3 separate regions of the Homo sapiens genome follow, and regions 2 and 3 are each linked to region 1. Evidence: promoter capture Hi-C in 16 types of primary human blood cells and fetal thymus (Javierre and others, 2016). All regions are on one chromosome and are shown on one strand. Each heading gives the region's core, a stretch centred on a gene start or on the middle of the fragment in contact. The rest is flanking DNA. Distances are from core to core; before and after follow the strand shown. Region 1 holds the start of CFAP58-DT (CFAP58 divergent transcript). Region 2 overlaps SH3PXD2A (SH3 and PX domains 2A). Region 3 overlaps SH3PXD2A (SH3 and PX domains 2A).

What was found. Contacts are between HindIII fragments. The CHiCAGO score rates a contact against its expected background, and 5 or more counts as called.
Region 2: a contact is called between a fragment that was not itself captured here and the fragment with the promoter of CFAP58-DT in region 1, in 1 of 17 cell types (naive B cells). The highest score is 5.1, in naive B cells.
Region 3: a contact is called between a fragment that was not itself captured here and the fragment with the promoter of CFAP58-DT in region 1, in 1 of 17 cell types (fetal thymus). The highest score is 5.1, in fetal thymus.

What each region holds. Positions count from the first base shown.
Region 1 is chr10:104,352,208-104,354,866 of GRCh38, reverse strand. CFAP58-DT (CFAP58 divergent transcript) reads left to right here and starts at 1,292. Exons shown (of 2, transcript NR_108036.1): 1 at 1,292-1,749. CFAP58 (cilia and flagella associated protein 58) reads right to left here and starts at 1,034. Exons shown (of 18, transcript NM_001008723.2): 1 at 961-1,034. The coding sequence starts at 969. RefSeq lists enhancers at 1,305-1,364, 2,642-2,659. The HindIII fragment of the contact is 7,343 bases long and covers 583-2,659 here.
Region 2 is chr10:103,689,404-103,692,062 of GRCh38, reverse strand. All of the region lies in intron 6 of SH3PXD2A (SH3 and PX domains 2A), which reads left to right. Among named protein-coding and RNA genes, the nearest start is that of SH3PXD2A-AS1, 56 kb to the left of the region's middle. RefSeq lists an enhancer at 110-169. The HindIII fragment of the contact is 1,451 bases long and covers 608-2,058 here.
Region 3 is chr10:103,712,677-103,715,335 of GRCh38, reverse strand. The region is part of intron 5 of SH3PXD2A (SH3 and PX domains 2A); the gene reads left to right. Among named protein-coding and RNA genes, the nearest start is that of SH3PXD2A-AS1, 33 kb to the left of the region's middle. The HindIII fragment of the contact is 8,786 bases long and covers 1-2,659 here.

The DNA.
Region 1 (2,659 bases), core at 43-2,542:
CTTGGGCTGGCTTCATGGGAGTGAAAACTGGTCAGTTGCACAGGGCCCCTTGCTCAGAAAGGCCCCATTCTTGGTTGAATGCTCTGCTGTTCTGTCTTAAAATTATTTGTAATTTTTGAAGAGACTTTGTGTTTTCACTTTGCATCAGGCCTTGCAAATCATGTAGCTGGTCCTGGCTGGAACAGACCGTGGGATGGGTGATGGGGGAAGGGCTCTGATGGGGCCATGAAGGATTTGGGTAGGGCCATAGTGGATGGGGACTGTGAATGGCAAGTAATGACAGGGACCCGAGGCTCTTGAGGTTATACGTGAGGGGGCTAAGGGGCAGGCAGGGAGTCACTGAAGGGTTGCAGAAATAACCCCTCATTGGAGAGGCTGAAAATGGGGTGTACTGTAATATGGGGGAGTGGTGGGGTGATACGAGATGTTAACACAGGAGTCAATGAACACACGGGGCAGAGGTGATGGGCAGAAGAGCCTTAATGAAGCTGTGTGACAGCAGGTGATCACATGTTAGGAAATCAGGGTGTGACAGGTGGACAAGGGCCATTGATTGGGATGACAGCAGGCATCTGTGAAGCTTTCTTCCCGGTTTCCCCTGTGAGATAAGACATCTCCAATATTTCTGTGTGAGCCTCTCTTATGGTATCACTCCATGACTAAAAATCTAGGGCTGGGTGCATGTCACGTGTGGATTTCAGAATTCATTAATTTTCTACCGCACTTAGCATAGCGCCGATGCCACAGTGGGGATAGTGGGGTGTCCACACAAATGAAGGAGAAACAGGAGGTAAAGAGGCCAGAGCCAACGGAGAAAGGCGCGGGAGTGAGTGAGGGTGCAGGGGAATAAGATGTTGATGGGGGGAAATATTGGAATCACCGTTTGTGACAATCGTCAGTAGGAGAGGGACAATGGGGAGGGGTCAAGGGAAAGGCGACAGAGGGGCGCTGACTCCTGACCTCAGCCATCCTGATGCTCTCTGGGGGCGGCCTCAGAGGCTGCTGTGGAGATCGCAGGAGCTGGGCCGGAGTCTGGGAAAGAAGCTAAAGGCGCGACGCGCTGTCTCTATCGCCCGCCCCGAGCGGAAACCCGCGCTCGGCGCGTCGGCCCGTCGCCTGGCAACGGACACGCCCTCTAGGGGCGCTAGCGGGAATTCGAAAGGGGAGGAGCTTCTGCGGCTGGCACCTGGGCAGGGTTCCTCAGAGAAATATGCAAATATATCCCAATGGGGCGGAGCCAAGGAAGTGAGGGGGCGGTGCCCCTGAGAGGCTGGGAGGAGTCCCACGGTGTGGGCAGATGGAGACACCCAGGAGAAAGAAGAGGGCGAATTGGAAGAGGCCACCCAGAAAGGACGGTGTGTGACACTAGGGAGCCAAGCATGGAGAGCCGAGGACTAACGCTTGGAAGGAAATGTGGACCAGAAGGTTCCGGATGAGGGAAGGACTGGCGGCTACACTCTGCCTTCCGAGACAACGAGGAATAATCTCACTTCAGTCAGTTCAACCCTTGTAAAACAGCTACTGTGTGCAAGACACGGAGGGAAAGCTGAAGTAGAGAAACCACAGACGCTGTCTTCAAAGGGTTTAATCTAATATTAGTGATGAGAAAAATAGGGTGCAGAGCTTAAGGCATCCTGGAAAAACGTATGTAGCGCCACATCGCGAAAATCTCTCTTCTGGGACCCCTCTCCCAAAAACGTTTCTTCGCCCTCTTCTCCCCCTTCTGCCTCCACTCTTTCTGGACTTCAGGTACAAATAGTTGAAATAATTATACTCCTTGGTTCATGAAATGTGTAAGACTCCTCTCTGGTTTTATTTTCCCCCTTTATCCCCATCCCTACTCCCAACCCCTATCCTCAACCCCATAGGCATTCATGCTGCTGTGCTTCCATATGTATTTTTGGGAAATGTACAAAATTTTTATCAGTGTATTTTTTAAAAATGTTTAAATAATGCTACTGGACTTTGGAGATTATCTTATTTTCTACTTTTTTCACTCAACATTCTTTTTAAGGATCTGTCCTCGTTGCGATTGGCAAGCATATAGTTCATTGCTTCTGAGTACTGCACAGCGTTTCATAAGGGGCATCTACCACACTTCACTTCCATTCCCCAGGTGTTAGGTAACAAGGCCGCCTCTAATTCTCCAATACATCAAGTAATACAGCCATGATCGTCTTTGTCCGTGGTCCCTTAAGGACCTCTGTGCAAATTCCTCTGAAATATATGCCAAGGAGTAAGATTGTTAAAGTTATAGGGATGCACAGGGACATTTGCTTATGCAGCTGCGTCCTGCACAAACACATCCAGCCATGGGGCAATGGAGGCTGAAAAACTGTCTCTACTCTCTTTCCCGTGCCATGTGCCCTACTGGAGAAAGGTGTGCACTTTTTATTCTCACAAAATCTCTGTACGCCAGCCAAGTCATGAACCTAGAAGGCTGTAACTATCTAGAGGGTGTGATATTTTCAAACTCATCTGGCCAGATGAACAGTTTTCCAAGAGCACAACGATGCCCAGTAGCCTAGTACAAGCCCTGGGTACTTACCAAGCACTTTAAGATTGTGTACCAGAGTTACTGCCCTACGCTGCACTCCAGTGTGGGGTTTCCATCCAACACTTCCATCCATCCCTTCCAGAAGGTGATAGGTCTTTTTTA
Region 2 (2,659 bases), core at 84-2,583, 660 kb after region 1:
GGATGTAGGAGGTAACACGTGGCTCCTGTGAATGGCTCCTGTGCCCAAGTGCCTTGGCCTGTGGATAGGTTGAGGGGAGTGCCCCTGTGTGGTGGATGGATGTAGAGTGGGGTAGATGTAATTGTATGATATGTATGTTTCTGTGTGTACAAGTGCTTGCTCACGTGCCTATTGGGACAGGGAAAGTTGTGTCCTGGTTTATGTGTTGGGGGCGTGTGTGGCTGTGGGGTTCTGTGCACATGTGTGAGTCATGATAGCTGTGTGCTGTGAGGGTATGTTTACTTGTTTGGGTGCATAGGCTGGGGGTGTGTGTGTGGTTGAGATATATCTGGTTATGGGTTGGAGTCTGTGTTTGTGTGTATTTGTGTACCAGTTTGGGACATGTCTAGCTGTGGGATGAGGTGTGTGTGCACTTGCCTATCACCTGGGTCTGGGGTGTCTCAGGCAGGCACACCCACTGGTGCAGAAGGCCATTTCCTCCTGTGAACCGTGGGGTGAGCCTGGGGAAGAGCATTCCTCCACTGTCACTCCAGGCAGGTCTCAAGTGGGAGAATGGAAGGCGCAGCAAAATGGGGGTTGTGTTCTGTCACCGCCCACACAGGAAGCTTGCCCTGGGCCTCAGACGTATAGTGTCCTGGTTGAACCTGGGCTCAAATTCTGGCTCTGTGTGACCTTAGGCAAGTTTCATAACTTCTCTGTGCCTCAGTTTCCTCATTTTCTTTAAAACAAAAATGCTAATGTTATCTGCCTCACACATAGAGGATTAAGTATGTTAATGTGGAATAGTCCTGGCACCGAATAACTACTGTACAAGTATCAGTTCTCAGCAGCAGCAGCAGTAGCACTTTCTGAAGGCCTGGGACCTAGTCCTGCCTCCATTGCCACTTTTCTCCCTATGTGACCTTGGGCAAATTCCTTCTCTATGCTGGGCCTCAGTTACCCCCATAAAGGCAAGAGCTGGAACAAATAACCTCTCAGGTCCCCCGCCACAATCTCTGGGGCTCAGCTTCTGTGCTGCTTCCTAAGCAATGCAGGGCCACACCCAGGCTGCCTCCCCCAGGGAAAGCCAACCCCCAGTTTCTCTGTCTTCCACTCTCACGCCAGGAAAAGGATGGATGGAGAAATTTAATTTATATTGGTGTGCTTATGATAATGGCCACTTAGTGTCATGGTTGAAAATGCCAGCTCTGAAGCCAGACAGCTGGAGTTGAGAGTCTGGCTTCTCTCCTCTGTGACCTTGGGTAGATTTCTTAGCCTCTCTGTGCCCATTACTTCTTCTGTACATTTGGGATAATATTCATACCCATTTTGTGATGGTTTATTATGTGTCAACTTGGCTGGGCCACAGTGCCCAGATATTTGGTCAAGCATTATTCTAGATGTTTCTGCAAAGGTGTTTTCTAGGTGAGATTCATATTTAAATAAATCAGTGGATTTTGAGTAAAGCAGATTACTCTCCATAATGCAGGCTAGCCTCATCCAATTGGTTGAAGGCCTCTTAATGGAACAAAGACTGACACACACACACCCTCCCTCAGCAAGGAGGAGTTCTGCCAGCAGCTGCCTTTGGACTCAGCTGCAGCTCTTCCCTTAGTCTCTGCCGGCCTCCCCCATCACATTTTGGACTCTCAAACCTCCACAATCACATAAGCCAGTTCCTAAAATAAATCTCCCTCTGTCTTCAAGCTCTCTATGCACCTCCCATTGGTTCTGTTTCTCTGGAGAACACTGACTAATACACACCTCATATGGTTATAACGAAGATTAGATAAACTAATATATGTAAGCATGTTTAGAACACTGCCTGCCACCTAGAAAGCTCCCCTGGAAGTGCTAGATGCTGTTATCGAATGAGCATCTACTATGTGCGAGGACATTTTCACGTTTCCTCATTTGCTGATCAGAGCCACAGTACATGATGGGTGGTGGGATTCCCATTTTGCAAATGAGAAGCTGAGGCTCCGATGGGGTGACTGCCCACACACAGTCCTTGGCAAACTGAGGATTGGAGTCCATGTTTAGGGCTCTGTTCTGCTCTATAATGAACCTCACGAAGCTTCCCAGGGTCACTCCAGCCAGGGACATTTGCGCAGAGGAAATGGATGCCATTCTGGGGTTCACTGTAAATCTCTTACTGAGCATAGAGCTTAGACTTGAGGCAAGGCTTAGGGATGGTGGAGTCAACAGAAGAAGAAAGTTCTCAGGAACTTTCTGGAGGAAGCAAGGCTGGTGACCTTGAAAACTGAAGGACAGTTTGGCCTCAAATTTATCTGCATCTTTCTTCCCTCTATTGAACCTGCTCCTTCCAGCATCTTCCCCATCTCAGGAACTGGCACCATCCACCCCATTGCTCAAGCCCAACATCTAGAAGTCACTCGTTTTTTGTTTTTTGTTTCTTTGAGACAGATTCTCCCCTGTTGCCCAGGCTGGAGTGCAGTGGCATGACCTTAGCTCACTGCAACCTCCGCCTCCTGGGTTCAAGTGGTTCTCTTGCCTCAGCCTCCCGAGTAGCTGGGATTACAGGCACCTGCCACCACACCTGGCTAATTTTTGCAGTTTTAGTAGAGACAAGGTTTCACCATTTTGGCCAGGCTGGTCTCGAACTCCTGACCTTAAGTGATCCACCCATCTCAGCCTCCCAAAGTGCTGGGATGACAGG
Region 3 (2,659 bases), core at 49-2,548, 640 kb after region 1:
ACCCAGCTCTGCCTGTGAGCTTGAATGGCTCACTTCTCCTCTTCCAGTCTGTTTCCCCATCTGTGCAAGGCCCCCGTGGTACATGTGGCAAAATGATTGTGAGGTTCAAGGGAGCAAATGCGTAGAAAATGCCCCTATGTACTTAACCCATCACAAAAGCTCAGGAAATGGGATTTTCTGTTTTTCTTCTCCTTTCCTCCATTAGCCCAGGCCTGGGTACAGAGCAGCCACCCCAAAAAGGCTGGGGGAATGGAATTGGGTTGGCCGAGCTGAAGGTGAGAGCTGGGAGAGGAGCATCTCACCGCATCCCTCTCTGCTCTGGGAGTCCTGGCCAGGGCTGGTGCTGCCTGTGGAGCGAGGCTGCCCCTACCACCCTGCAGGCTGTTGGAAACTCCAGGGCATCCCAAGTCCCTGTCTCTCCTGGGGGATTGGGGTAGAAAGTCCACCCACACATGCCTGGCTGCATTCTGGTCAGACACCTATCATCAAGATGGCTCTGTGTGCTCTGTAAAGCCCTGCCACCACCCATCTGGCCAGGGACGTGGGCCACACTGTCCTTGCAGCCCCCTGCCACTGGCTGCTGCACAAATAGCCTCTTTATGTTGATGGGCAGGAGGGCCAGCTGGACCTTGGAGCTGTGGGAGGCTGAGGGAGGGAACAGAACGTTAGATAAATAAACCTTGTCCATCCCCTGCCATGCCCCCTTCAACCTGGGTGGGCAGGTGGCAGGAAAATGCCCACAGGAAGCTGTGTCCAACCCACTTGAAAGGGGCATTGGCCGTGGGGAACAAGGACTTCTGCAGGCTCAGCTGTCATGCTGGGTCGGCGAGCTGGAGGGAAGCAGATTCAAACACCCCCAGTCCAGCCCAGCTCATAGCGCACACGCCTGGGAGGCCCATGTCCAGGGAGAGAAGATGACTCTGTTTTCAGGCCTGGCACAGGATTTTCTTCAGGGTGGGGAGGAAGGTGGCAGGGAAGGGTATCCTGGTGCAGGAGTGTGTGGGGGTAGACTGGGTCCCCCATTAATTTCTTGGGCTTGTGCATTCTATGTTCTCTGAAACCTCAAGACCCCCATGTGCCCACTCTCTTACCCCCAAGGAAGGCCTACAGAGCCCTTTGGAGCCTCTGGCGGAAGGGGTAAGCCCTGGAAGAGCGCTGAGGCCTGCTTTGCTGTTATGTTGTGTTCAAGGTGGGTCTTGGTTCCCCTGTGGTTATCACTACCCTCCATGTTCCTAGTCCCTGGGTAGTTACCCCTCCATGGGGAGTTTAAGGCAGAACTGAACCTAGAACCTGGGTCTTCGGCCACTGGGACCAGCCTTCCTCTGTTGCATTCTTGTGGGAGGCGTGTGTTCATGCAAGTGTTTCTAGATCATCTCTATGTGAGGCCCGGGACTTCAGAAGTAGCTCAGTCCCCACTCTCGGGGCCCTGGTGGTCTAAGGGGGAGGATAGCATGGCATGGGCCTGGCTTGCTTCCACAGGAGGCAGCAGACCATTATAGGCTCTGGCAAACCCTGGCTCCTCCCCCACCTGCTGTGTGGCCTGGGAATTATTTAAACTCCCAAAACCTCAATGTCCTTGCCTATAAAACAGGGCTTATAACAGCTGCTGATAATGGGGAAGACAGAAAAAGAACAACTGATTGTAATAGGTGCAGGGCCTTGCGCAGCAACAAACCAGCCTGCTGAGGTGGTCAGGAAGGCCTCCCTGAGGAGGTGGCATTCAGGCTGAGACTAAAGCAAGAGCTCACTACTCAAGGAGAGTGGCAGAGGAGGGCATCCAGGCCAGAGGGAGTCCCTGAGATTGTGTTTCAAGGATTGAAAGAAATTTCATCTTCCGTGAGAGTAAGGGATTTTTGGCTAGGGCTAGGCCAAGAAGAGATAGGCCTGAGGCAGTCATTAACAATCGCTACACTTCAGCATCAGGTAAATGGGCAGAACCTAGGGGTCTCTGGGCTATCTCCTGGCTCTGACATTCTGAGGTCCTAGCAGAACCAGTTGGCTATTGCAGTGGTCCAAGCATGCAACAGTCAGGATCTAGAGAGGGGCTGGATGGCTGTGGGAATGGGAGATATTCATAGACATAGTCCGAGATGAAAGGGACAAGCATCCAGAGACCTTGTGACTCCTTCCCCTTCACAGGCTCTGTAAGTTGGATCTTGAGGGTGGTTGGAGTTTGGGCACGTCTGTAACTTTGGGTCACTTTGAAGCCCTCGGTTCATGAGATACATGTGTATCTGGCTCCACCCCATGGCCATATCGGATATTACAGCTCCCAGCGTCTGGCTGATGCTGTACTAAAGCCGTGCTGGACCCTTGAGCATGGTTTATCTTGTTTGAGCATCCGTACAATCCAGGGAGGCCCATGCTCCTTTCTGCAGATGAGGGACCTTAGGCTGAGACTGGTTGACTTACCTCTCAGCTAGGAAGTGTCAGAGGCTGGACTCATGCCATTGCCCTTCAGCTCCAAGTCCACACCCCACACGGGGGTGAGCTGAGGATGAAGTGAGAAGCACCTGACCCTTGGCTGGGGCAACTAGCTCCAAATTTCAGGATGGGACCCTTCATCAGACAGAAGGGCAGAATAACTGCATCAGGACGCCATGGTTGCCATGGTCACCACGGGGGCTGAAGGTAGAGTTGAAGGCATGTGCCACATTTG